Linked DNA regions of Homo sapiens: regions 2, 3, 4, 5, 6 and 7 are each linked to region 1. Evidence: promoter capture Hi-C in 16 types of primary human blood cells and fetal thymus (Javierre and others, 2016). All regions are on one chromosome and are shown on one strand. Each heading gives the region's core, a stretch centred on a gene start or on the middle of the fragment in contact. The rest is flanking DNA. Distances are from core to core; before and after follow the strand shown.

Region 1 (3,920 bases), core at 1,042-3,541:
CACGTTGTTGTGAAAATGTATTCACTTTCTACAGCCAATAATGAAAGAAAGATTTTCTCTGTTTCTTTTCCCTGGCAGCATTTCCAAAAGGTGAGCCCTGAGATTCTGTTTTAAATTACTCCCAAAAAAAGAACAAACCTGAGAAACTTACTACACTCATTCTGCTGAAAAAAAAGATAGTAAGAATTTTTAACAATGAAGTATGACTTGATATTTTAATTTTCTGAAATCCACCTTTCATGGCCTTGGAAATGTTTTTTATCTTTCAAGCTCTACTGATGAAATTTACACTAACTGAAAAACTGAAGTAGAAATAAATGAACAATCTAAGGCAGCAAACTCAGGGAGTGGTAATGCTGTTGGAATACAGACATATCTGGCTCAAGTGTCAAGTCAGGTCACGGTATCATTTGAGACATTCTCCTACCCCAATACTGCTCATTAAAATGCTCAGGGACCATCCTCCCAGATCCTGCACTGTGCCCCATGGACACCGCAGCCGAGTTTGCACCACCTCACTGGGGTGGGGTTTTTGTTTTTTGGTCCTTTGGGAGTTTTTCTCCCTTCACAAATCTGAATGAATCTAGGGGGCAGGAATCATTTGTGACTGTTTCCCCTCAATACCAGCAAACGATTGGCTGACCAGCAATGTGTCTCCAAGGGATGAAAACTAGCTTTGAAGAAATAAAATCCTTATGTCCCAAGGGGTTATCTTTTTAGGTTAAGGGTGTCCCAGGAGATTTCTCTCAGCCCCAGGGCATCCAGCTGCTCCCCTGAGGGACTACATTTCCATACCTTGGGCGGTCCTCTAACAGGAGGTGACCTGGGGCTGACAGTCACTAAACACTCCAGGAGACATGGCCACTGTGGGCATCTTGAGTCATCCCAGACAGTTCTGAAATTCAGGAACAGGAAAAGACTGGATAGAGGGTGGCTATACAGGGCCCTGTAAAGTTTCCAAAGCAAAACCTCAAGTCAAAAGACATTCTTTCCGATAACGTGTCTGTGCCTGGGGAAGATGAATGAAAAAGAGGCACAGTTTTTTTTGCAGTGGAGTGTCAGGGATTTTTTATTCTCTGCTTTCCTCTCACGTGAAATGTATGCCAAAAAAACACAAATCTTTAAAAAAGTGTCATCCACTGCTCTGTGAAATCATGATTAATGAGTAAAATACTGTCTGAAATGTACAATAAATGACCAATAGTTAAGAATGTGAACTGGAGAGGGGAAGTTGGCCTTTGGAAATGTCGGGAAGGAACTGGAAATTTAATATTTTATTGCAAGCCCAGTTAGACTGGGGGAACACAGTGGTGGACTTGAGACTCTGCGTGCTACACGTTAGGAAAGCGCAGGGGGAAAACCAGTTCCCCTGGGCAGTGTTAAGATGATTAATGAGCAGGCGATTATACGGAAGTGGTTATAGTGCCCCAGGTTTCTAGGGAGAAAAACCAAAACCAAACTCAAATGCTTTTCTTGTAAATTACAACTTTAGGGGAAAACAAAATTCAGACTTAACGAACCACAAAGCTCCAATTCACCTCCACCTGCATAGTCTAAATAAGGCAACTACAAACTGTAACCCATCGGTTAATTTGGTCTGCTTCCTCATGCACCTTATAAAAACCTTTCCTTCAAGCCCCTCTGGGGATCTCCGAACCACAAACCAGGACTGCAGGCTTCCCATGTCACAAATCGCTATTTGCTCAAATTCTTCAACGTTTTAACAGTGACTCCCTTTAATTCTTAAGAGGAGTAGTGACTGAGGACCCCACAGGGCACGGTTTCTTCCCACACACCGAACCTGGGTCTCCCCTGAGACGCTCCCGTCCTCACCGCACAATCTGGGGGAGACGCGGGGCTGCGACGCGGAGCTGCCCAGAGAGGGCTCCGGCCAGGGACGAGGTCGCTCTGCGGGGTCGGGATGGGACAGGACACGCGGGGTCCCGGCTGCCGGCCTGGCCGCCATCTTGCAGCGGAGGGGACCGAGGGCCGAGCTGCACCAGTTGGGACTCGGGGCCCAGACCCCGAGGCTGACTGCGGGGAGGCCCGGGTGCCCCTACAGCGGGTTCCCGCCGCTTCCGACCACCGCCCTCCCTCCCTCTGGGGACCCCCGACCCCGCACACTCACCATTTCCCAGCTTCCGGGATGCCCTGGCGTCTTAGCTACGAATCTCCCAGTGCCTGCAAGTCGCAGAGCAACAGAGGTTCTGTTTATTCTCAGAACGCGAAGCCGCCTGGGCCTCCCAGAACGAAAGACTCGGAGCTGTGGCGAGGAGACCCGAGCTCTAACTGGAGCCGACGAAGGCCCCCGCCAAATCCCGGAAGCCGCCCCTGCTCTCCGGCTTCACTCCTGATTGGACGGTTTCCACTCCAGCGCCCCTGATTGGATAAAGCTCCATGCCCCGCCCCCTCATTATTAGTGCCTTTTTTTTTTTTTTTTTTGAAAGGGAGACTGGCTCATTGAGGTGGGGCCGCCTGCTGCGGGTATTACAGCTAATTAAGGGGTGAGCTGCGACTTGAAATACACTTGCTCTTTCCCTTACCTGGTTCTGCTTGTATAAGACATCTTATTAGCTAATTAAGTTTAAGAAGAAGTATATTTAGACACCTTTAAAGCAAGAAAGACCCTCATCCCGTCCCTTAGCACCTCTCTTACCGCACTGTACCCCACTGCTAACGCCACCGTGGGAGGGGGCCCCTCAGCTGGGAACAGAAGGCCGTACACTTCATTCACGTGTTTTCAATTAGGCCCTCGCATGATACATAGACTGAACCAGTGCAAAAGCATCTTATAGGGGCATGCAGGCTGGGGTCCCAGGAGGATGTTGCGGGCCGTGGTGGAACGTGGAAGAGGGGCTGGCCTATTCTTCTAATCTACAACTCTGCCCGCATCTCCTGGAGTCTGCATCACTGGTAACGGGGCCGCTGACTGTCCGTCTGTCTCTCCTTCTCAATCCCTTCAAGCTCAGGGAAGAAGGGTCCTTGGCAGCGACAGGGCTGGGAGCTCAGTTCCTCTGGGCCGTGCTGGCTCAGGCTCTGTGGCCACGGACTCCTCAGCCCTACCTCTGGTTTTTGCTTTTGTTTTGAGACAGGGTCTCACTCTATTGCCCAGGCTGGTGCAGTGGTGCAGTCATGGCTCACTGCAGCCTCCGGGGCTCAAGCAATCTTCCCACCTCAGCCTCCTGAGTAGCTGGGACTACAGGCACATGCCACCATGCCCGGCTGATTTTTGTATTTTTTGTAGAGATGAGGTTTCACCATGTTGCCCAGGCTGGTCTCCATCTCCTGAGCTCAAGCGATCCTCCCACCTTAGCCTCCCAAGTAACTGGGGCTACAGGTTAATAGTCAGTTCGCCAACTCCTGAGCTCAAGTATTCTGTCTGCTTTGACCTGCCAGAATGCCCTATTCCTGTTTTTCTGGAGTCTTGGAGCTAGTGGCGCTGCAGCACCTCGTAGTCTTCCGGCTGAGTAGATTCTCCTAGTCTTCTGGCTGAGTAGAAGGTGGGAGAGGAGGTGGGTGTCAAACTGGGCCAGGGCCCTCGGCCGCCATCTAGCTTGGTTAAACTCCCACTTGGGACAGATCAGGCTCTGTGCCTTATTCAGTGAGACGTGTGGAACAAATGCTTCCCTCCCCAAAGCAGAAACATCCCTGATTGCTGACAGTCAGGATTCCATGCACTTGTCTTGGCCTGGGGCATGGCTGCCTCTCACCCTCTCACCCAGTTCTAGTCGCTGCACTCTGTGGCCTCCCTGCCACCAGATTAGGTGTAGACAACGGGTGTGGGACAGGGCTGCTGACACCACTGGCTGACCAAACCCCTTTCCCACACTGAAGGGAGAAAAGACAGGAGGTTAGGGGCTCCCAAAGGCAGCACTGCTTGTGACAGCACCACGGGAGTCCTTAGGGCCTACTAAGGGGCT
Region 2 (3,574 bases), core at 228-2,727, 860 kb after region 1:
AAAGAAGGAAGAGAATGCCAGGCATGGTGGCCCAGGCCTGTAATCTCAGCACTTTGGGAGGCTGAGGCAGGAGGATCGCTTGACCCTAGGAGTTCAAAACCAGCCTGGACAACATAGTGAGACCCTGTCTCTACAAAAAATAAAATTAGCCAGGTGTGGTGGCGCGTGCCTGTAGTCCCAGCTACTCAGGAGGCTGAGGTGGGAGGATCACTTGAGCCTGGGACGTTGAGGCTGCAGTGAGCCGAGATTGCACCACTGTACTCTAGCCTGGGCAACAGAATGAGACCCTAACTCAAAAAAAAAAAAAAAGAGAGAATGGACGGAGCCCAGGGAACCCTGAGGTTGAAGGGCTGTGGGAAAAAAGGTAAGGACCTGGAAAGAGGCTGGGAGACAACACTCACAGATCAGGTTGGGGGGTAGGTGGGCGGAGCACCACAGACAGGAGGGTTTCAGGAAGAGGGGCTCATCAGGGTCACATGCTGCTGAGAGGTCAGGGATGGTAAGGCCCGACTGGCGGTGTGGGATGAGGGTTTATCAGACACAGATTTGGCACCAAGGAGGTCACTGGGTACCTGGCAAGAGAATGCCGGGTGCGGTGGCCCAGGCATGGAATCCCAGCACTTTGGGAGGCTGAGGCAGGAGGATCGATTGAGAGTCAAGACCTGTCCCATTGGGGACCGGCGCCCCATTGCAGGGGGTGGGAGGAGCTGGTGTGGTGTAAGGATGGGGAGAGGAGAGGTGGGCATCAGAACAGGAGGTCACTCAGACCCTCAGGGGCACCTGATTTCCCCTCCCACTAAGGACAAATTTCATGTTCAACAGTCAGAGCCATCTGCAGATGGGCCAAGAGGTCCTGGGAGGTAGTGAGCACCCTGTCCCTGGAGGCAGACAAGCAGAGCTCCGAGACCCACCGCGGCGGGAGAGGCCCAGGCTGTGCAACACAAGCCCCGTGTCCTTCTCAGCAAGCACCTGGCTGGTTCCCTGCATCGTAAAAACCACACAGAGGGTCGGTCTTTCTATTTATAGTGTCCAAAGAGCCTCCTGCAAGAACACACATGGGCTCGCACCCAGAGGTGGTCGGCGCGCAGCCTCACGCAGACACCAGACACAAAACACAGCCGCGATCTGTGTCTCCTGGAAAGGGATCCACATCCTGGCTCCCAGGTTATTCCCTGAATTCATTCCGTCACCCCCTCTTTCCGCCGGGCCACCCCACCCCCCGGGCCACCCTAGCATCTCCGCTTGGCTCTCCGCATCTCTCCCTGCTCCTCGGGCTCTGCCCACCCCCACCCGCCTCCAGGCCTCTCCCGCCCCCTCCTCGGGTGTCCCCCAAGCCCGTGACTACAACCCCCAGGCGCCCCCGGCCCGGGTGCTGCGCATGCCCCCTGCTCCTTGCGCGCTCCCGCTCCCCCCGCCCTCGCTTCCTCCTCACCTCCCTCCGCCCCCCTCCCCCGCGCTCGGCTCCCGCATCCCTCCATCCTACCCTGTGCCGCAGCCGCATCGCCACCGCAGCCCGGCAGAGCCGAGCCCGGCCCAGGCCCCTGCCCCTGCCCGGCCCTCGGCCAGTCGCCCCCGGCCCCGCCCCCGCCCGCAGGCCCCCCGCAGCGGCCGCGGCGCCCCCCGGCGCCCCCAGACCCCGGCCTCCGGCACAGAGGCGGGAGACCCGGAGCAGCAGCAGAGGCAGGAGGACTAGGAGGAGGAGGAGGAGCCGTCGCAGGATGAAGGATCGGACTCAAGAGCTGCGGAGTGTGAGCTTGGGGGTGGGGAGAATGGGGGGGCGGGACCCCAATATTGGGGGAGCGCGTGGGGATGGAGTGGGGGAGGTGCTGGGACGTGGGGGCGAAGGATGAGATCGGAGGTTGGTAGCCGGAGCACCCCAGTATCTTCAGGCGCCTGATGTCTCTCCAGTGAACCTGCATTTTGGGGACAGTGCCTGGAAGGGGTTGGAGGCCATGAAGACACAAGGGGGCAGGAGAGGTCTCAGGGGCCTCGAACACCCCGCATTCCCAGGAGGGCCCCGGGGTCTGGTCTGGGGATGGGAGAGAGTGGATATCAGGAGAAACCGGAGGAGACTGTCATCCCCTGGGCAGGTTTGCCAAAGAGAAGCATGGGGGCGGTGACTGGGCCAGGCTGAGAGTCTAGCAGGACCCAGATTCAGGGGATGCTACGGGGAAGGACACAGGTTGGGACTGAGATGCCAGCACCTGGCAGTGAATGAAGTGTGTGTGTGTGTGCACACGCGTGTGTCACTCCCTATAGGGAGGGGGCATCTCTCCGAGACAGGGAGGGAAGAGGTGGCCTCCGGAGAGAGCCAGAGGGCCAGGGCCTGAGACAGGGTGACCCAGAGGTGGGAGATGGGGATGCAGAGGAGAGGGCCATGGAACACGGGCCGTGCTCTGCTTGGGGGAACTGGGGCACCCCGGGCAGTCAAGGGCTGATGCAGGCCCCAGGTCTGCAGGCCTGAAGAGGCCCGGCTCCAAGAGTCTGGCCAGGCAGTCCCTGGTTTTGGGGGGACAGGGGAAGGACTGCAGTGGAGGCTGCTACCTGGAGGAACTGGGGAGTGGGGTTCGATGAGAATGGTTTCAGGGGCAGGGAGGACGCTGGGGTATTTGGAGAAATGACCTGGGGCCCGAGGAGGCAGCACTGACAGTCCGCACTGTGCTGGGCTGGTGGTGTTATGTTAATAAGGGTACCGGCCCCGGCTGAGCTGCCCAATGCACTGAGCCTTTACAGGGAACTGGTGGGTTGTTACCCCAGGGGTTATTACCCCACTTGACAGATGAGGAAACTGAGATTCAGGCGTGGGAAGGGACTTGTCCAAGGTCACCAAGCAAGTGGGTGGGGGGCAGACTGCAATCTGGGTTTCCTGTCTGCTAGGTTGACACAGGTCTCTGCTTTTCTGGCCTTTGAAACAGAAGTTTCAGCACTGGGGGTGAAGAGCTGTCCCCTGGATTTGGGGGTGGGGACCCAGGTTACAGACAGACGAGAAGAAGGTGTTTGGAGGCAAGTGACCGCTGTCTCTGGGGACAGACAGGTTGCCAAATGGGAAGCAAGGAGGAGCTGGTGGCTGAGGGAGGGAATTTTAAAGGTTTCTTTATTACATTTTTACTGAATATACACTCAGGCATGAGGAAAGTGACAGTAATAATAAACATTGTTTGAAGTGTTTTATGCATATTCACTCATTTTGATCCTCACAGCAATCCTATGAGACTGGTTATCTCATTTCATAGATATATAAATATCTTTTTAGATATATAGATATATGTTATCTCATTTTATAGATAAGGACACTAAGCTCAGAGAGGTTAAGTAATTAGACCAAAGTCACACAGCTGGTAAAGGCAGGATTCAAACCCAGGCAGGCCGGCTTCAGCATCGGTGCTGTCAATTCCCCTCCTCAGTTTGCAGAGCAGGCTTTCATCCGTGATGTCATTAGAGCCCCACTGACCTCCTGGCAAGTGGACGGGGAGGCTCTTTCATTTTAGAGTTGGGGAAACTGAGGCCCAGAGTGGTTGAATAACTTTCCAAAGGTCACACAGCTAGCAGGTGAGGGATCCGGACTTGAACCCAG
Region 3 (3,908 bases), core at 179-2,678, 920 kb after region 1:
ACTTAGGGACTGGGAGGGAAAAGTCTCTGTTTTTGGACCTGACATGGCAACGGGGGTCTTGGAGGTCTTCGACTGGTATATACTTTGAGTCCTAGGAAGGAAAGCAGCAGCAGAAAGAGAGCTCAGGGTGAATCCAGGCTAGGGAGCTCCAAGCAGCCCATCTGGACACACACATGCAGAAGAGCTGGGTCCAACTGCCCACTTTCAAGAAGGCAGGCTACCGTTCTAGGTGCTGAACAGAATCACAGAGGACGGGCGCCTGGAGCTCCCCGGATGGCAACCAAAGACCCGGGCACTCACGTTGACACTGAAGTGGACTCCATCATAGCGGTACACCTTCTGAGAAGGCCTGCGCAGGGCAGGGTCCAAGGCAGGATCCACGATGAGCTTGTAGTTCCGCCACTGGAAGCTCGGGGCCTTCTGCCCATCTCCCCCACCTTCCTGATCCATCTTTGCTCATTTACACTGTTAGGGGAAGAGGGACACGCAAGAAGGATCAGGACTTGGGGCCTGACTCCCCTGCCTTTCCTCATTGGCTAGCCCCGATTCCAGGTTCTCCCATCACTCCAGTTTCCAACCCTCACCCTGACCCGGGGCTCCCCCGGATTCTCCCCCAAGTACCCTCTGTTTCGCCACAACAACCCAGCCTCTTTCCACCTCCCAACTCTACTGTCAGGCCCCCAGGCCCGTCTCGAGCCCCCTTACCTTCCCGCTCTCCCTAGCGCGCGCCCCACTTGGCCTCGGAGCAAGACCCCTCCCCCGCCCCCTGCAGGCCCCGCCCCCTCCCGCCTCCTCACCGGCCAGCGGCCCGGGCCGAGCCCGGCCACGGCTCCCACACACCCGCTCTCCTCCCCGCGCCCCGATCCTCCGGCCGAAAGGTGGCACCTCTTCGGGGCGTTGGAAACACCGCGAGACCGAGCCCGAGACCCGGCTTCGACCCCGAATCCGGGCGGGGGGGTGGGGGGAACGTGCACCGCTGCCCTCTCCTCCCGCCCCGGCGCGTTCTGCACCCCCCCCAGCAGGTCTCCGCGCACGCGCGCCGCGCGGCCCCACTCACCCGCTCCCGGCGAGCGGCTCCCCCTCCCCCCACCTCGCGCGGCACCTCAGCGGCGCGAGGCGGCGGCAGCGGCAGCGCGAGACCCGGCCCCGCAGCGGTGGCGGCGGCGGCGCCCCCCCACCACCACCTCCCCGGCGCGCGCACCAAACACCACTGCCACCTGCGCGAGGCCCAGCGGGCACAGGGTCTGCATTCGCACTTTCGCCACAGGCGCTGCCGGGGGACCCACGGGGCCGAGGGTAGCGGCTTCGCCTCGGCCGGCGCCCTGGGAGGCTCGGAAGTTGCGGCCCAGGGAGCTTGGAGATTGGCCGCATCCCCCGGAGAGTCGGCTTCGCCACGACGATCTAGATGCTGCGGCCCGGGACCTTGACGAATCGGCGGCGACGAAAGCTGCGACTAGTCCCTGAGGAAAAGGGGCGGGGCGGAGGGGAGGAGGCCAGCCAGCGCTGGGGAACCTTCAGTGGCGCGTTCTGCAGACGCAGATTCACCGGGCGGGCGGGGCGAATCGCTGGACAGGATGCGCGCCGCTTTGCTTCTCTTCCCCGTCCCTTCCTTGCACTGCCAAATTCTGAGAGGCTGCAGATTCGCCACTGTTCCCGGCCTCAGCCGTAGCCTCCCCTTCATCCGCCTTGGTGGAGTCAAGAAAATAACGGCCCGTTAGCCAATCCCTGCTGGCAGAGTCGACAACTTTTTTTGGATTTTTCTTACTGGCCCAAGTGAGAGAATAGCCCGCTTCTGTCCCTGGGGAAAATGCCTCCAGCCCAGCGCTCCTCTCAGAGTCCGATGAGAATTTTCAGCCGAGTATCGAGGGACCCGAGGAATTCTGAGGATCCGACCTGGCGAATCTGCGGATTCCGCTGTGGGCGGGGCCGAGTCAAGGGGCGGGGCCAGGGCGTGCAGAGCCTGGGACTAGGGGGCGCCTCCGGGAGGACCCACGAGGACTCACCCGGATGGGAGGGACGGCCGGGAGGTGGAAAAACACAACCGTGAGCGGTGACTCAGGCGGTTTGCCCCGCCTCGCACATAAATGCAGGGTACCTTTCCTTCCCGTTATTGCCCTTGGGTGTCTGGCTGCTTAGGATGCCCATTTGCCAGATGGGGAGAGTGAGGCCTGTAGAAGGTGCCCTACTTTGCCGTACTCAAACCCACCATTAGTGGTTAAATCCAGGGACCGCCTCAAGGTTTTCTGATGAGCCTAGTGGGGCCTAAGTGCCCTTAAATGGGCCTTGTAATAATAAACGAGGTCCTACAGGAACGGGACTGGACTGGTGTGTCCTCCTGGCGTCATGGTCCCACTGCCCGCTTCTTTGGCTATGGCGCCCTATGCTCACGGGATGCCTCCGCACAAGGGCAGCAGCGGCCCAGGCCTACCCCTGGAACTCGGGCTGAGGTTTCTGAAGGCTGGGCACCGTTTTGATCCCGTGTGGGCGCAGGCACTCCCAGGAGGTCCCTTTTCCTGAGCTGAGGATGCCCCAAGCTCCTGATATGTGTACATCAGGCCCTCGCTATATGGCCTTGGGCAAGTCATTGACCTAAGTTTCAGAGTCTTCCTTTAAACTTGGATGTCAATTTGTACACATCCGAACAGTGCAGAAAAGACCCTTAGAGCCTGGTTTATGCAAATTCACCATTTTAAGTAATAGGAAAAGGTGGAAGGGAGACTTATCCAAGGTCTCACACCACAAGATAGAAGAAGATTAGGACTCTACAATTTTGAGGGAAATAAGGCTGAAAAAAATAATTTACGTGGAGGCATAGGTGTTGAGATCAGATTCCTTTCTGTTCCAGTTGAAAGGCACTGGTTCCTTTTCTCAAATCAAAGAGAGATTCCCGTGTGAGGGGTAGATAGTCCAAGTTCAGTTTCATGGACTAGCTGTGTGGTTTTGGGCAAGATCTTCAGCCTTCTTGGGCCTGTTTCCTTATCTCTGAAATGAAAATGATAAAGACTTAACGCTTAAGGTGTTGTGAGAGTTAAATAAGATAACCTATGAAAGTCCCCTAGTATGTGGTAGTTGCTCAAGAAAGAAACTTGAGGCCAGGTGCAGTGGCTAACACTTGTAATCTCAGCACTTTGGGAGGCCAAGGTGGGAGGATCACTTGAGCCCAGGAGTTCAAGACCAGCCTGGACAACATAGTGAGACCCTCCTCTCTACAAAAAAAAAAAAAAATTAATTAGCTGGGTTGGTGGGACGTCCTGTGGTGCCAGCTATTTGGGAGGCTGAGGTGGGAGGCTCATGAGCCTGGGAGGTCAAAGCTGCAGTGAGCCAAGATTGCACAGCTGCACTCCAGCCTGGGCAAAAGAGTGAGACTGTCTCGGCTGGGCGCGATGGCTCACACCTGTAATCCCAGCACTTTGGGAGGCCAAGGCAGGGGGATCACTAGGTCAGGAGATCAAGACCATCCTGGCTAACACGGTGAAACCCCATCTCTACTAAAAATACAAAAACAAAATTAGCCGAGCGTGGTGGTGGGCACCTGTAATCCCAGCTACTTGGGAGGCTGAGGCAGGAGAATGGCGTGAACCCAGGAGGCGGCGCTTGCAGTGAGCCGAGATCATGCCACTGTACTCCAGCCTGGGCGACAGTGCAAGACAGAGCGAGACTCGGTCTCAAAAAAAAAAAAAAAAAAAGAGTGCTTATACTAAACACTCAGGGAGGGCTGGGTGTGGTGGCTCATGCCTGTAATCCCAGCACTTCGGGAGGCCAGACAGGTGGATCACCTGAGGTCAGAAGTTTGAGACCAGCTTGGCCAACATGGCGAAACCCCGTCTCTAATAAAAATATAAAAATTAGCCGGGTGTGGCGGCACACACTTGTAATCCCAGCTACTCTGGTGGCTGAGGCAGGAGAAT
Region 4 (3,927 bases), core at 1,130-3,629, 950 kb after region 1:
CAGCTAGAGCCTGCCCTCTTCCTCAGGGGGACAAGGAGGTCACCCCCTTCTGTGTATCTGGGGGCCAATCCTCTACTCAAGGCCTGTCTCCCTGCAGCAGCTCAAGAGGAGCCCAAGAACTGCTTCCTGGCCTCGCTCCTCTACCGCCTCCTCAGGGTCCCTTCCCTAGCCCAGGGAGCAGGAGGGGACACCGAGGCCCTCTCCTCTGCCATCCCCACACCGGAGCTCCTTGGAAAGGCCAGGCACTCCTTGTCCGTGGTGTTAGCTTGGAGAGATCCCAACTCTTCCCCTGTTATCCGAGTGTAGAATATCCCAGGCTCTCCCCAACCTCAATCTGGGGTAAACTGCCCAGATTCACCTCCCAGATACCCAGAGATTCCTAGACGGAAGCTCCGGACTTTTCCTCCCCCCCGCCCCACCAACCTTTTCATCCACAGCAGCCATCCAATCTCTCTTCCCCTCAACCCAGTTATCCTCACCAGATCCAGCGAGATCCTTGCCCCCAAGTCCCTAACGATCTCCTCTGCCCACTAACTCCCCAGAGCTCTGACAGCCCTGGAGATGCTTCTTCAGAGACCCTTCTCAGCCCAAGATCTCAGCCCCTCTTGTTCCCCACAGGGTTCCCTCCTCCAGGACACCCTCCTCTTGGATCCCTCAGGTCCACCTGGGCAATCTCCCAAATTCCTTGGGATTCTAGAATCCAGCCTGACATCTTCCCAGAACTGAGGATGGGCTCAGTCCTAGGACCCCCAGCTTCCCGGGCTGCTTTCATCCCTAATCATCTAGAATCCCTTGGGCTCCCCCTCCCATGGAAACCAGATCCTCCAAGATCCCATGTGGAATTAGAAGCCTGGAGGGTCTCTTCCCAGTCAGTCTTACCCCAGATTCCCCCTTTCCGGGGACTTTCATACCCATCCATGGGGCTAAGGGGCCCTCCAGCGCTCCAGGGGAGGGGCCTGGAGGGCGGCGACTGCAGGCGGGGGTGGGGGCTTTCAAGGGGAAGCAGGGTCTAGGAAGGAGGGCCAGTTCCCCAGGGTGGAGAGGTCATAGGAAGGAGGGCTGGAGATGAGTTTGGAGTAGAGAGAGGGTGAGGCTGGGGGCGGGGAAGGTAGAGAGAGGCCGGGCTGAGGATGAATGGGAGTGGGCGCTGCCCAGGTCTGGGGGTGAGGAGGAGCCGCATGAACCCACCTCACACGTGTCCCGGGAGCCATCTCTCCCTTCTCGGCAGCTCCCGGCGGGTCGGCGGCCATCGGCGGCGGGGGGGCCGGGCGGCGCGGGGCGCGGAACGCTCAGAACGCCGGGGTCCACGGCCCCCCGAGGGCGCTCGGCCCCTCCCTCCGGCGGAGGCCGGGACGGCGGCGAGTGGAGATGGGGGGCGCCGGGGGCGAGGCCCTCCCACGGGCTGCGGCGCGGCCCTTCCAGGGGGAGGTCCTGCTCTGGGAGGCTCAGTCCCTCAGCCCCCCCAGGCCAACGGGGGCTCCTTGGGCGCAGGGTGCTCAGCTTCTGCCCGGGGCCCACTCAGTCCCGGGTCCGAGTCCCAGCTCCCCTCCCCCCACCCCGCCCCGCCTCTCCCCAGCGCCCCTGGCCCTTTAACTGGCCCCTTCCCGGACCCCACTGCCCAGGGGTCCAGTGCCAGGCCTGGGCCCCCCCCACCGTTTCCGGGGTTCAAGCCCGCCCACCGCCGGTTCCCGGGGAGGGGGGGGTCGCTGTAACCTGCCCCCCTCCCCTGGGCCCGCCCCTGGACTGCGACCCCCTGCCCTACGGCTGCGAGGCGAGCGGAGGGGGAGGTGAAGGAAGCTGCTCCGGCCCCGCCCCCCCCAGCCCGCGCGCACCCCCGACCTCTCCCCCTCCCCCAAGCGCGCGACCCTCGGGAGATAGGGATTTAAATAAAATTTGAATAAATCCCCCTCCTCAAGCGGGAGGGTGGAAGGAAAGGATAGAGGGGGAGAGGGAAAGGGGAAGGGGGCAGTTGGGGTGTCTCAGCCCCCCTGGTCCCCCAGCCCCGCGCTGCTACGGCCCGGGGCCCTGGCCGCCTCTCTCATCCCTCCTCAGCTCCTTCCTCCTTCCTCCTCTCTTCCCCCCTCCCCTCCCCTCCCTCCTCCTTCCCTCCTCCTCCTCCTCCTCCCCCTCTTTACTCCCTCCTTCTCCCAGAGGAACCCCGCCCCCTTCCCCCTCCTTCCTCCACCACCTCCACTTTCCAGGACGAACGCACGCAGGGCTCGACGGGAGTTGTAGTCCTGCGGCCACTGATGCTACGGGGGAACAATAGGACGCTGGGGACAGCGGGAACTACAAACAGGACGGCGGAGGGCGTGCCCAGCCGGGAGCCGAGGATGCCGGGAGTTAGAGTCCCGTTGCCCCGAGGCTCCCAGTTGCAGAACATCGAGAAGGAGAGGGAACGATGACTACAAACAAGATGGCCTTCTCCCCCGACCCGACCTCCTTCCCAGGCACTCACACGCCCTCCTGTCCACAACCCTCCGCGTGTGTGGTACCTGACGGGAGTCGCAGTCCATCTGCTGCCTTCCCGCTGCCATTTCTACTCGTCAGGAACAATGGAAAGGTGAAAAGGAAAGAGGACTACAAGCAAGATGGCGGAAGAGGGACATACACCTGACTAGTAGTCGATCTTACGAGGTGCGATGGGATTAGTAGTTTTATAGCCTTCCAGTGTTCCTTAAGAATGGCGGAACCAGGAGGACGAGGAGACTACCGTAAAGATGGCAGGCTACCTAGCCTCTCCCGGTCTCCGCTTTCCACCACCTTGGGCACCTCGCCCGCCTGTGGTCTCGAAATCCCCCCCACCAGTGGCGCACGGCCTGACGGGAGTTGCAGTCTCCCGGCTCCCGTCTATCATCTCAAGTCGAGACAATGGAAGGGGATGGGGCGGGGCCACCGGCAAAGATGGCGGCTGCAGGGCCGGGGCGACTGCGACATGGGATGTGTAGTCCAGGCGTCTGGCCTCTTCCCTGCGGAAATGAGGGAGAGGACTACGAAAAAGATGGCGACCTCGCCCCTCGACCTCTGCGCCGGTGCCTGCTGGGAAATGTAGTTCCTTGCCGAGTCCAACAGAGAAAGGACGTCGCTGTTGAAATGTGAATCCCGGCGGACACGCCAAATTGCGAGGCGACGGAAACGGAAAGACTCTTTTCTCCTCTCTCCGCCACCGGCTTCTGAACAGCCTGGCGGGAAATGTAGTCCCAAGCTTTCACTCGCGAGTGGAGGGGAAGGATTTATGTCACCAGTGGGGATCAGTGCGGGTGGGGGAGAAAAACGTCGGGCGATCCGGGAATAAAGAATGTCCGCCTCTCCATGGGGCGAGGACTTCGCGTTTCAGGGGAGGGCCCTTAAAGGAAGGCAGCAGGAATCAGTCTTGTCGAACAGGGGGGCGTGGTTCTCGTCGAGAGTGCATTCACACTCTTGTTCCCTAGAAAGCCTGGGCACCTCCCACTCGATTCCTGCTCCTCAGACCTCCGGGAATCAGTGTCTTACAAGACGTGCGGGCTCCGGGGAAAAGGACCTGGAGTCACAGCGAATCCCCGCCCCGCCCCGGGAAGCCACCAAACCTTGCTTTTTCTCATCTGCAAAATGGGGACAATGGGGATAATGATCCCCACCTCGAAGCACAGTTGTGAGTGTTAAACAAGCCAATGTTCTTGTCACCAAAGTGCCCAACTCTGGCACGGGGCACGCGGTGGTAGATCCCTTTCTAAGGTCCCTTCCAGCCCAGCCGTTCTGGGAGCCCAGGAATCCATGATGCCGGACAGAGTTCGCTCCTGTGAGAAGAAAACTGACCCGCAGGCTCCTCCCAGATTGAACCGACCCCCGCCCCTCCTCATCGGGGTCCTCCAGCGTCTGTTACCGAGCACTGCTCCCAGGGGGCGCTCAATCTCCATTCGACTGAGGTACTACAAACACGATTTCCGC
Region 5 (3,894 bases), core at 136-2,635, 930 kb after region 1:
GCGGGGTCAGTGACTTCCGCCGGCTCAGGTCCATTCGAGGCCACAGACGCTTGTCATAGCACCTGGCGGCCATAGGGGGGAGACAGAGACCTCAGCCCTCAGCTCTCAGCAGCCCACAGTTCCCAGGCTCCCCAGCTCCAAGGGTGCACCCCAGCTCTCTTCTGGCCACACAGACAACAGGGTAGCAAGAAGCACCTGACCTCAGCCAAGAGCACTGGGATTGGAACCCAACTCCATCACTAACTGGAAATGAGACCCTGGGCAAGTCTGTTCCTCTCCCTGAGCCTCAGAAGCCTCGTTTATGATTGAAGGCAATAGCCCCCCCACTCTGCCTGCCCACAGGGCAGCTGTCAGGTCACATGGGCTCATCCCAGCTGTGGGCCTCCCAGCATAGAAAGTGTGCTGCCCAACACATACACAAATGCCACGCATGCTGCCTGATGTCATGCCAAGGGGACTGGTGTTATCCAGTCGTCTCCAGCCACCCTTGGGCTTCTTGATTCCTGACTGAGTTCTGGTGCTCATGGGTCCTTGCCTCCTTTACTCATCTCTGCTTCTGATCCACACCTGTCCCATCTTGACAGCCAGCTGCCCGCAGCTGGACTTACAGCCCTAATATCTTCCCTATTACATTACTGTGTTCCTCCAACTACAATGTAAATTCCACAAGGGCAGATTTGCGTTTTCCACTTTTTGAAAAAAAATTTTTTTTGAGACAGGGTCTCACTCTGTAACCCAGGCTGGACTCAGGCTCACCGCAGCCTCAACCTACTGGGCTCAAGCAATCCTCCCACCTCAGCCTCCTGAGTAGCTGGGACCACAGGCACATGTCACCACGCCTGGCTAATTTTTAAACAATTTTTTTGTAGAGACAGGGTCTCACTATGTTGCCTAGGCTGGTCTTGATCTCCTGGCCTCAAGCGATCCTCCTGCCTTGGCCTCCCAAAACACTGGGATTACAGGCATGAGCTACTGCACCCAGCTGCCCATTTGTAATGAATGAATCAAGCTAGTAACTACTTAAAGCTTCCACTGACCACTCTCCCCCACCTCCTCATCTACAGCATTTCATTTATTCACTCTGATTATAGAAAGCGTTATAGGTCCCAAGTATTGAAGCTACAAAGATGAACGAGTCCTAAGCAACATTAAACAGGTTTCCTAACCCGAGCACTCCACAGGCCTCAACAGACTATCTAACATGCAGTGGGCTGGGTGCAGTGGCTCACACCTGTAATCCCAGCACTTTGGGAGGCCGAGGTGGGTGGATCATGAGGTCAGGAATTCGAGAACAGCCTGGCTGTTCTACTAGTGAAACCCTGTCTCTACTAAAAGTACAAAAAATTAGCTGGGCATGGTGGCGGGCGCCTGTAATCCTAGCTACTCGGGAGGCTGAGGCAGGAGAATTACTTGAACCCGGGAGGCGGAGATTGCAGCGAGCCGAGATCGCACCACTGCACACCAGCTGGGGCAACAGTGAGAGACTCCATCTCAAAAACAAACAAACAAACAAACAAACAAAAAACATGCAGTGAACTGGAGAAGGGCCTCTCAAACGTACTTCCCCAGGAATCCTTCCCCACCTCTCCCAAGGTAATCTAGTAACATTTTGTAGTACACTGAAGTTCCTTTGGACTCAGTTTGAGAACTCTCTTCTCTGAGTTCAGTAGTTCTCAAAGGCATGTCCAGAAATGCCTCTGAGACTCAATAGACTGTGTCAGAAGCAGCAGGCCCAGGAAGCTTTTTTTTTTTTTTCTTGAGACAGTGTCTTGCTTAGTCACCCAGGCTGGGGTGCAGTACTGCGATCACAGCTCACTGCAACCTTAAACTCCTGGGCTCAAGCCATCCTCCTACCTCAGCCTCCTGAGTAGCTGGGACTACAGGCACATGCCACCACACCTGACTTTTTTTTTTTTTTTGAGACAGAGTTTCGCTCTTGTTGCCCAGGCTGGAGTGCAATGGTGTGATCTTGGCTCACTGAAACCACCATCTCCCAAGTTCAAGCGATTCTCCCGCCTCAGCCTCCAGAGTAGCTGGGATTACAGGCATGCGCCACCACGCCCGGCTAATTTTTTGTATTTTTAGTAGAGATAGGGTTTCTCCATGTTGGCCAGGCTGGTCTCGAAATCCTGACCTCAGGTGATCTGCCCACTTTGGCCTCCCATAGTGCTGGGATTACAGGCGTGAGCCACTGTGCCTGGCCTATTTTTTTATTTTTAGTAGAGACAAGGTTGTCCAGGCTGGTTTTGAACTCCTGAGCTCAAGCGATCCTTCCCTTGGCCTCCCAAGGGAAGCTTTCTCTTGCCTCCCTCCCTGCCCTCATGACTCTGAAAGGCTTTTCCTTGTAGAAGCCCTGGGCTGGGGCAGTGATTCCCAAGCTCCAGTATTTGCTGTTCACTTATCTGCGTAACATGATTTATCTTTGAATCATCTCCTCTTTGCACTTAAAACCAGTATTGTTGCCGGGCGCGGTGGCTCATGCGTGTAATCCCAGCACTTTGGGAGGCCGAGGTGGGTGGATCACTAGGTCAGGAGATCAAGACCATCCAGGCTAACACAGTGAAACCCCGTCTCTACTAAAAAAAAAATACAAAAAATTAGCTGGGCGTGGTGGAGGGCGCCTGTAGTCCCAGATACTCGGGAGGCTGAGGCAGGAGAATGGCGTGAATCTGGGAGGTGGAGCTTGCAGTGAGCCGAGATCGTGCCACTGCACTCCAGCCTGGGCGACAGAGCGAGACTCCGTCTCAAAAAAAAAACAAAAAAAAAAACCCCAGTATTGTTTCACATAAATATGTTAATCTTAAAAATAAACACAAAAGTCCAAGTGTGGTGTAATCCCAGCACTTTGGGAGGCCAAGGTGGACAGATCACGAGGTCAGGAGATTGAGACCATCCTGGCTAACACGGTGAAACCCCATCTCTACTAAAAATACAAAAAATTAGCCGGGCGTGGTGGCGGGCACCTGTAGTCCCAGCTACTTGGGAGGCTAAGGCAGGAGAATGGCATGAACCTGGGAGGCGGAGCTTGCAGTAAGCCGAGATTGCGCCACTGCACTCCAGCCTGGGTGACAGAGCGAGACTCTGTCTCAAAAATAAATAAATAAATAAATAAAACACAAAAAAGACCAGAGTTATTAAATCCTAGCCAGGTGTTGCTGTGGCTTTAGGCTACTACCTGAAGACTACTTTTGTTAAACAGGGAGATAAGTATCAGAGAAGTGTTAGAAAAAGCACCCAATAGTGGCCAGGCGCAGTGGCTCACGCCTGTAATCCCAGCACTTTGGGAGGCCGAGGCAGGCGGATCACGAGATCAGGAGATGGAGACCATCCTGGCTAATACGGTGAAACCTCGTATCTGCTAAAAATACAAAAGATTAGCCGGGCGTGGTGGCAGGCGCCTGTAGTCCCAGCTACTCAGGAGGCTGAGGCAGGAGAATGGCGTGAACCCAGGAGGCGGAGCTGGCAGTGAGCCGAGACTGCACCACTGCACTCCAGCCTGGGCGACAGAGCAAGACTCCATCTCAAAAAAGAAAAAAAGCACCCGATGGAGAGACTTCCTTCCAATGGAAAGACTTCCTTTCCAAAACTCACAGAGGGATTAAGCCATATTTTTGTGTCACTGAAAAATGCCAGACCTACTCCAGAGGCCCAGTGTGTCATTTCATTATTTTTTTCAGACAAAGTCTCACTGTCGCCCAGGCTAGAGCTCAGTGATGCAATCATAGCTCACTGCAGCCTCAAACTCCTGGGCTCAAGTGATCCCCTTGCCTCAGCCTCCCATGTGGCTGGGACCACAGGTATGCTTAGCTAATTTTTTCTTTTTTAATAGAGATGGGGGTCTCACTATGTTGCCCAAGCTTGTCTTGAACCCCTGGGCTCAAGCAATTCTCCTGC
Region 6 (3,576 bases), core at 1-2,500, 890 kb after region 1:
GTCTGCACACAAGCCTCGATCACGTTCCGGGTACCTGGCAGAGGAGGAGGCGTATCCAAGCTGCAGCTTCTTCCCTCTCTGCATCTTCCTCCTCCCCATCCCAGGTCCAGGGAAAACCATGACAGGTCAGGGGAGGCGGGGGCAGGGCTGTCAATAGGACAACTTGTCCCAGGGGAGTCACCGGAGGTCAAGGCCAAAGACAGAGTGGGGAACAAACAGGCAAGATGGCCAGGAGTGTCCAGAGCTCCTCACCCTGCACGTTGACCTCATGGATGGTCTTGGGACTGGCCCTGCCAAACACGTCTACCAGCCCAGCCGTGTGGATGACCACATGGGCTCCGGCCACAGCTGCTGCCACCTCATGGGCCTGGGTCACGTCCCCCTGGATGGCAGTCACCCTCACAGGCCCTGGCCGGGGTTGGAGGACACAGGCCATGTCAGAGCTGGGGCCAGAGGCCAGAGGCTGGGTTCATCTTCCACCCTGGAGTCACGTTCCCAATGTGACTCACTCGACCCATCCATGTGGACAGAAACCAGCATCATCTGTTCCACTGCAGGGGTGGGGATCCCAGCTTGGGAAGGGTTGGGGAAGCGTCCACACCCTCTCCACCACAAGCTCCCCCAACAAGAACCTGTCTTCAGCTCCTCCAGCCAGGGACCCAGGTGTTGGTCAAAGACCCGCAGCTCCCCGAGCCGGGGCTCCCGCTGCAGCAGCATTCGCACCACGTGCTCTCCCAGGAAGCCACAGCCCCCTGTGACCAGGTACACCAGCTTCTGGGCCTGTGCAGAGTCGGCCATGCCTGGCTGGGGAAGAGACCTTGGCTCATCCAGGGGCTGGCTGCCACCTGCTGCAACCACCTGTTACTGCTGGAGGTGCCCTGGAGCGGTGACGAGGCTGGCGTTTGCGGGGAGGGCAGAGCTGATCCTGGGAGCTGCAGCAACCAGGCCACCTGCCGTCTGCCCCTGCTGATGGCTGAGTTACGGAGAGAGGGGCGGGCTTGGGGTGCAGGAAGGGGTCAGGGTTTAGGGAGAGAGATTTGAAGGCAGTAAAAGGGTGGGGAGGCCAGGAGTTGAGGGAGGTGGAGGGAAGGTTATAGGAAGGTGGGAAGGGCCGGATGGAGGGAAAGGCCACCTGGGCACTGGCAGCGCCTCTGCCTACCTGCAGCCGCTATCCCAGGGTGCCCAGACTGGCCTGGAGGGGCCCTCTTCTTTCGTCCAGGGCTGGCCGGCCCGCACACCGTCCTTCCGCTGGCTCCTCCTTCTCCCTCCTGCCCCATTCCAGGAACAGAGACCCGCCCAGCCACAACCCCCACCACTCTTGCCCCAAGGCGCCCCCTGGCGGCCGCTCTGTGCTCCACTGGCATCTGGGTCCAGCGGAGAACTTGGTGGGGATGAAGCTCGAACTTGCAGAGTGGGCTGAAGGGGTCTGGGGCTGTGGGTGGAGCCAGCGGTGACCTCATCCCACAGTGTGACCTCAGGCCTTCCCTCCTGCTGGGCTTCCCAGGAGGCCGGAGGTCCAGCTGCAGCTGTGATTGTAGGAAGGGGAGGCCTGACCTTGGCACCACCCTGGCGGGCACTGGTGGGGTATTCCTGGTGCGGGTGCGGCTGCTGCAGCCTGTCAGGGGGTCCGAGACAGTCTCGGACTGTCTCTGCAGGTCTGGGCTCTTGCCTGAAGGCCCCTTTACCTGCCCCACACTTCAGGTACCCACTTTTCCCTCTCTTCAACTTGCACAACCCTCCGTGCCCTCTACCCCCAACCCCTCGCTCCTGCCCAAATACACCGACCAAACACTTTTGTACAATAAAGTTTAATCACAATTATAAAAATGTGGCGTCGGGTTTGCGCTATTAACATATGTACAGTCCAGCCCAGCAAAAGGGACCCACCCCGCCATCCTGGCCTGGCTGAGCCGGGGAGTGACACCAGGGTGGAAGGGTGACCCTCAGGGTCTGGCAGGAACAGATGAGGCAGGGTTCCAGGCACGGAGTCCCCAGGACTGGGGGTGCAGAGCCCCCCCAGGGGGAGAACATGGCCACTGCCCCAGAGACCCCTAAACTGGGGAGGGGTACACGCAGGGCGTAAGGGGAAGTCCCCATTAACACAAAGCAAGAGGACTGTGTAGCCCCCCAGGACAGAATCTGTACAGGCCGGCACCCCAGGTTTCCACAGGAAACAGCTGCTGGCTGCTACAAAACATTTACAGCTTCTTCTCCGCAAAGAAAAACAATCAGGGGGTGGTGGGCAGGGGTGACAGGAGAGGCAGAAGCTGCCTCCAGGGACTGAGGCTCCCTCGCTGGGCTTGGGGCCCCCAACCCCACGCTTGGAGATGGGGGCATGTGGGCCCTGCTGAGCCCACTAAGGCTGGGGGGGTGCTGGGAGCTCAGGGCACCAGGGGGAATAAATAGGGGTGTGGGCACCCATCCTGCCCCACCTCAGTTTAGGGAGCCCCGGCAGCTCTCTGTGCCACACAGACACGGGATCTTGTTGTCTTCCAGTGGGAACTTGTAGTCGTAGGTGATCTCCTCGTCCACGCCAATGGGCTGCTTGGAGTAGATCACGATCTTCTTCTGGGACTCGATGGTGATGACCTTGGCGTAGCAGTTAGGCTGCGGATGGAAGGGCGTGTGAGCCGTGGCCACCCCCACCGACCCCCAACTCCTGCCCCGGCTGGCCCCTGGCGCACCGTGCAGCAGTGGTTGATGAATCTGGCCAGGTTGCCACACTTGGTGGCATCGATGATGGTGTCGTGGTCCACCCGGAACAGGTAGCTGCTGCCAATGCCCTCCTGCACGTAGCGCTTCTCCCGCATGTCGGCCACCATCTGCCAGGGTGAGATGCGATGGTCAGGGAAGAGTCCCCCACTTCCTGCCCCTGAGCACGCCTGCCAGCCAGCACCCCAGGTCCACGCCCACCAGGCCTGGAGCTGCAGCTCTGCCTCCAGCTCCCGCTAACCCGGCACTGACTCTCTCGACTCTGCTTCCAGGAGCCCTCCCTCTTTGGGGCAGCATCCTAAGCCTCTGGTGGCCATTCTAAGTCACCCGCAGGGAACTCCAGGGAAATCTGCACTGGGTAAGAGAGCCACTGACTCCTTCGAGCATCTGCCTGGTCACAGTGGGGTCCCGGACTGCTGGGGCAAGTCTGGGGTTGGGGCAGCTCCTGAAATGACTGGCCATGTCACCAACGGCACCCTGCTCATCTCTCCTCCCTGGACCTCTCTCCAAAACAGGCACCTGTTGGCTGCCACCGGCTAATGCAAATGGCAGGCCGCCCATGTCAGGCCCCGCACCTCCGTGTGAGGAGCAACCCTTACTTCCCAGAAGACAGTGAGGAGCCTCTGCACGCCCTCCTCGGGTGACCTCACTCCCTTCCAGAGCCTCAGCCGCCAGCTATGTGGTGGGGACTCCTCCCAAACTTCCATTTCCAGCCAAAAGCCACCTCAGTGGAGCTGCTGGGCGTCATCCCCTAGATGTCCCTGGGGCATTGCAACCCCACATGTCCAGACTGGAGCTCATCTTGACCATATATTTGTTCTTCCTCCTCACACCCATCTCACTGGCCCTCCCATCATACTCCCA
Region 7 (3,883 bases), core at 361-2,860, 980 kb after region 1:
TTGCCGTGAGCAATTGCTGGAATAAAAGAAGAAAGAGTTTAACTGGAGAGGGCACAGCAGATAGAATTGAGCCAGACAATTGGTAGGGCCCACAATCACATGTGTATTAACTGTAAATATTTATTGGGCATTTACCATGTGCTGGGCACTGTTCTAAGAGCCATATGCACATTAACTAACTCCTGTGTTATAGATGCGGAATAGAGAGAAGTGACTTGTCCAGGGTAACACAGTTAGGTGTGGCACAACTGGGATTTTACCTAAGCAGCTTGGCTCAAAAAAATGCTGTCTTAACCATGCTCCTAACCCCTTATACCCTTAACCTCTGGACATGGTCACGCCCAAATTCACAGACACAACAGCCACACCTTGAAACACACACACACACACAACAGCAGCACAAATTTTGACATGGTCTTATCTGCTGACAAGCCAGCCTCAAATAAAGTCAACAAAGACACACTCATTTTATTTAAGTAATGTACATTTTATTTAAGTCATGTGATGGATTTTCACAGAATACATATGCCCAGGGAACCAGCACCAGATTACACAACAGAACTGGATCAGCTCCCAGAAGCTCTCCCCTCGTCCCCTCCCAACCCTAAGGGCGATCACTATCTTGACTTTGGTGCACTATAAATTAGTTTTGTCTGGTTCTGAACGTAATACACCTGGAACCATCTAGTATGTACTGTTGCATTTGGCTTCTGTCACTCAAGATTTCATCATGCGACTTGTCTATGTTGCTGTGTGTAGCCGGGCATGTCAATCCCGTTGCTGTGTCTATGTGCATGGTAGTGAGTAGGGCATCATTCATTTTCCATTCTGTTGATGGGTTATTTCCAGTTTGGGGCTGTTATGAAAGGGCTCTGAACATTCCCATGCACCCTCTTGATGCTCACACCTACACATTTCTGCTGGGTGTTGACAGCCTAGGAGTGGAACTGCTGGATCACAGAGGTGGCATATGTTCGGCTTCATTAGAAAACTGCCAGTTTTCCAAAATGTCTCTACCAATTTACACTCCCCCAGAAATACAAGAGAGGTCCAGTCGCTCTACTTTCTCGCCTCCACACGGTGCGGTCTTTTTCACTTTAGCCATTCTGGTGGTGGAGACCCACTCGTATTCGCAGCGCCTGGAGCGTAATTGGCACTCAGTTAACAAGACTGTTGAATGAATGGATGACTGAGTAAGTTGGGCGGTGTAGACCAACAGCCTGGCGAGGGCGGACACACGCACGCACTCCACACACAGCGTTTCGCGGACACCCACCGCGGCTCACGCAGCGCAGGACACAGACCCTGTCGCGCACCCCGCGCCCACGTGGTCTGAACACACGGCCTCGGCCCTGCCTCGCGCGTCCGGTCGCAACTCCCGCTCTCCGTCCCCAACTCGCGCGTCCGTCCCCAACTCCCGCTCTCGGCGGCGGGCAGGGGGCGCTGAGCGTCCAGGCGCTCCAAGGGGGCGGGCCCGGGTCGGGGCGGGGCCGGCCGGGCTTCCAGGCCTGGGCTCTGGCCGCCCGCGCCACCGGGCCGCTCCGGGGACAGGCCGGGGCGGGGCGCGGCGGCAGGAAACGGGGCGGGGACTTGCGGAGGCGTTGGGGACGAGAGAGGGCGCGGCCAACTCCAGGGGGGACGGCAGGCCGAGAGCGCGGCGCCCGGGCCTGGCGCGGAGCCTGAGCCCGCCGGACGGGAGGCGGCCCCGCCGCGGGCTCGGCCCCGGCCCCAGCCCCGCCAGCATGGCCGGCCGGACTGTACGGGCCGAGACCCGGAGCCGGGCCAAGGATGACATCAAGAAGGTGATGGCGACCATCGAGAAGGTCCGGAGATGGTGAGCGCTGCTCGGGGGCCAGGGACGGGACACAGCGGGACCACCAGCACCAAAGGCGTCTACGCTGCCCTCGCCAGCTCTGGGCCCCGGGTGTTCGGTGTATCTCCACCCACTAGCTTTGCCCTGGATCCACAGGGCTCTGTCCCCGTTCGCCTGGCTACTCCTGGGGGTCTACAAAGCGTGATCCCCAGCCGTGTCCTCCCAGAGCGGGAGCCCCCTCTTGTGCCCCGCCCCCTAAAGCTTTGACACCCCTCCTGCAGGTGCGCCCCAGGATCTGCAGGGCTCTGATCCCGGGCCAGGCCCATAGCCACGCCCCCCATGTGTGCCCCAGGGGTCCGCAGAGCCAGGGCCCCAAATCATATCCTCTCTCTAGAGGCACCCACCGCCTATGCCCTGGGGTTTGCAGGACTCTCTTCCTCCATGTAACTATGCCCCATTAGCAAAACTGTTGCTATCCTCCTGTGCCTCCTCAACCTCTGCAGGTACCCCCAGATGTGTCCAGCTCCTAGGGGGGTGGGTCTCCCCTCAGGCCTCTCTGACCCAGCCCCCCACCCTCCCACAGGGAGAAGCGATGGGTGACTGTGGGCGACACTTCCCTTCGTATCTTCAAGTGGGTGCCAGTGGTGGATCCCCAGGAGGAGGTGAGCAACCCCCATTCCCACAAGGCCCTGCATCTGTGCAACCTCAGGCAAGTTCCTCCCCACGCTGACCTCTACCTCCAGCTCCCCGAGACCTCAGATGCAGCAGGACAGACGGGAACCATCATTAGCAGCTCCTCCCCTTTTGCCCTCTTTTCTGCTCCACACCCCCTGAGTTTGAGCCCTTTTGCTTCTCAGTGCCTCAGTTTCCTTAGGTGTATGGTGGGGCTTTCCAAGAGCTCTGACCCTAATCCTCTAACCCCCAGGAGCGAAGGCGGGCAGGTGGCGGGGCAGAGAGATCCCGTGGCCGGGAACGTCGGGGCAGGGGCGCCAGTCCCCGAGGGGGTGGCCCTCTCATCCTGCTGGATCTTAATGGTAGGTAGGGATCCTGAAACGCGGGGGGCTGTGGGGACTGAAGGAGTGTACTAGGGATCTCAGGCCAACCATCTCGGCTCTTGCTCCCGCAGATGAGAACAGCAACCAGAGTTTCCATTCGGAAGGTTCCCTGCAAAAGGGCACAGAGCCCAGTCCTGGGGGCACCCCCCAGCCCAGCCGCCCTGTGTCACCTGCCGGACCCCCAGAAGGGGTCCCTGAGGAGGCTCAGCCCCCACGGCTGGGCCAAGAGAGAGGTAGGACCAGGTACCTCCCAGGAGCTCTCTCCTCTAAGTCCTGTCTTCTCCAGAGTCTAACCTACCAGCTCATCCCTATACCTGCTCCCCGTCTTGTGCACCCTCCTCAAGGCGCCTTCCGACTCCTGCAGAATCTCCCTGTAGCTACAGTCTCATTCCTCTGGTCTCTTAGAATCTATACAGACATATCACTGTCTGAGATTTTCATGTAAATTAATTTTTTACTAGTTTATCTTTCTCCTCACTCTCATGTCAGTTTCCTGAATGTTGGGCCCATATTGATCCTTTTTTTTTTTTTTTTTTTTTTTTTTTTTTGAGAAAGGGTCTCGCTCTGTCACCCAGGCTGGAGTAGTATAGTGGTGTGATCATAGCTCACTGCAGCCTTGAACTTCCTGGGCTCAAGCGATCCTCCCGCCTCAGCCTCCCAAGTAGCTGGGACCACAGGCATATGCCACCACACCTGGCTAATTTTTGTATTTTTTGTAGAGATAAGGTTTCACCATGTTGCCCAGGCTGGTCTCAAACTCACTTGCTCAAGCAGTCCTCCACCTTCAGCCTCCCAAAGTGCTGGGATTACGGGTGTGAGCCATCACACCCACACCCGGCCCTCCCCCCCCTTTTTTTTAGAGACAAGGTCTCTGTCACCCACGCTGGAGTACTCTGGTGCAATCATAGCTCACTGCAGCCTCAAACTCCTGGGCTCAAGGGATCCTCTGGCCCCAGCCTCCCAAATAGCTGGGACTCAGGTGTGTGCCACCATGCCCAGCCAATTCTTAAATTTT

Evidence for each region. The method cuts DNA at HindIII sites, captures the fragments that hold promoters and counts their contacts. A CHiCAGO score of 5 or more calls a contact.
Region 2: a contact is called between the fragment with the promoter of STX1B here and the fragment with the promoter of ZNF267 in region 1, in 17 of 17 cell types (non-activated CD4 T cells, naive CD8 T cells, total CD4 T cells and 14 more). The highest score is 34.2, in non-activated CD4 T cells.
Region 3: a contact is called between the fragment with the promoter of SETD1A here and the fragment with the promoter of ZNF267 in region 1, in 13 of 17 cell types (non-activated CD4 T cells, naive CD8 T cells, monocytes and 10 more). The highest score is 17.0, in non-activated CD4 T cells.
Region 4: a contact is called between the fragment with the promoter of FBXL19-AS1 here and the fragment with the promoter of ZNF267 in region 1, in 12 of 17 cell types (naive CD8 T cells, total B cells, activated CD4 T cells and 9 more). The highest score is 15.6, in naive CD8 T cells.
Region 5: a fragment that was not itself captured here is called in contact with the fragment with the promoter of ZNF267 in region 1 in 1 of 17 cell types (total B cells); the score reaches 5.7 in total B cells.
Region 6: the fragment with the promoter of HSD3B7 here is called in contact with the fragment with the promoter of ZNF267 in region 1 in 15 of 17 cell types (naive CD8 T cells, non-activated CD4 T cells, total CD4 T cells and 12 more); the score reaches 37.7 in naive CD8 T cells.
Region 7: a contact is called between the fragment with the promoter of BCL7C here and the fragment with the promoter of ZNF267 in region 1, in 11 of 17 cell types (naive CD8 T cells, naive B cells, fetal thymus and 8 more). The highest score is 8.5, in naive CD8 T cells.

What each region holds. Positions count from the first base shown.
Region 1 is chr16:31,872,178-31,876,097 of GRCh38, reverse strand. ZNF267 (zinc finger protein 267) reads right to left here and starts at 2,291. Exons shown (of 4, transcript NM_003414.6): 1 at 2,129-2,291. The coding sequence starts at 2,131. RefSeq lists silencers at 2,010-2,089, 2,240-2,289 and an enhancer at 2,176-2,470. The HindIII fragment of the contact is 12,710 bases long and covers 1-3,920 here.
Region 2 is chr16:31,008,541-31,012,114 of GRCh38, reverse strand. It overlaps STX1B (syntaxin 1B), which reads left to right and starts at 1,477. Exons shown (of 10, transcript NM_052874.5): 1 at 1,477-1,748. The coding sequence starts at 1,719. RefSeq lists an enhancer at 940-1,441. The HindIII fragment of the contact is 27,284 bases long and covers 1-3,574 here.
Region 3 is chr16:30,955,274-30,959,181 of GRCh38, reverse strand. SETD1A (SET domain containing 1A, histone lysine methyltransferase) reads right to left here and starts at 1,428. Exons shown (of 19, transcript NM_014712.3): 1 at 1,218-1,428; 2 at 301-465; 3 at 1-91. The coding sequence starts at 450. RefSeq lists silencers at 720-809, 950-1,169 and enhancers at 1,770-1,899, 1,357-2,120. The HindIII fragment of the contact is 14,721 bases long and covers 1-3,908 here.
Region 4 is chr16:30,921,721-30,925,647 of GRCh38, reverse strand. It overlaps FBXL19-AS1 (FBXL19 antisense RNA 1), which reads left to right and starts at 2,379. Exons shown (of 1, transcript NR_024348.1): 1 at 2,379-3,927. It overlaps FBXL19 (F-box and leucine rich repeat protein 19), which reads right to left and starts at 2,076. Exons shown (of 11, transcript NM_001382779.1): 1 at 1,189-2,076. RefSeq lists enhancers at 2,158-2,317, 2,358-2,447, 2,070-3,037, 2,478-3,297, 3,038-3,927. The HindIII fragment of the contact is 5,738 bases long and covers 1-3,207 here.
Region 5 is chr16:30,938,284-30,942,177 of GRCh38, reverse strand. FBXL19 (F-box and leucine rich repeat protein 19) reads right to left here. Exons shown (of 11, transcript NM_001382779.1): 8 at 1-62. Among named protein-coding and RNA genes, the nearest start is that of ORAI3, 8.8 kb to the left of the region's middle. RefSeq lists a silencer at 39-168. The HindIII fragment of the contact is 714 bases long and covers 1,029-1,742 here.
Region 6 is chr16:30,982,881-30,986,456 of GRCh38, reverse strand. It overlaps HSD3B7 (hydroxy-delta-5-steroid dehydrogenase, 3 beta- and steroid delta-isomerase 7), which reads right to left and starts at 1,250. Exons shown (of 7, transcript NM_025193.4): 1 at 1,160-1,250; 2 at 633-804; 3 at 253-408; 4 at 1-34. The coding sequence starts at 798. SETD1A (SET domain containing 1A, histone lysine methyltransferase) reads right to left here. Exons shown (of 19, transcript NM_014712.3): 18 at 2,685-2,822; 19 at 1,793-2,607. The coding sequence ends at 2,434. RefSeq lists an enhancer at 1,269-1,781. The HindIII fragment of the contact is 29,451 bases long and covers 1-3,576 here.
Region 7 is chr16:30,891,804-30,895,686 of GRCh38, reverse strand. It overlaps BCL7C (BAF chromatin remodeling complex subunit BCL7C), which reads left to right and starts at 1,610. Exons shown (of 6, transcript NM_004765.4): 1 at 1,610-1,834; 2 at 2,397-2,475; 3 at 2,739-2,847; 4 at 2,940-3,101. The coding sequence starts at 1,743. It overlaps MIR762HG (MIR762 host gene), which reads right to left. Exons shown (of 3, transcript NR_110942.1): 3 at 467-1,139. MIR762 (microRNA 762) reads right to left here and starts at 1,784; the gene lies at 1,702-1,784. RefSeq lists enhancers at 1-409, 2,153-2,482, 2,021-2,653 and a silencer at 1,293-1,772. The HindIII fragment of the contact is 7,734 bases long and covers 1-2,076 here.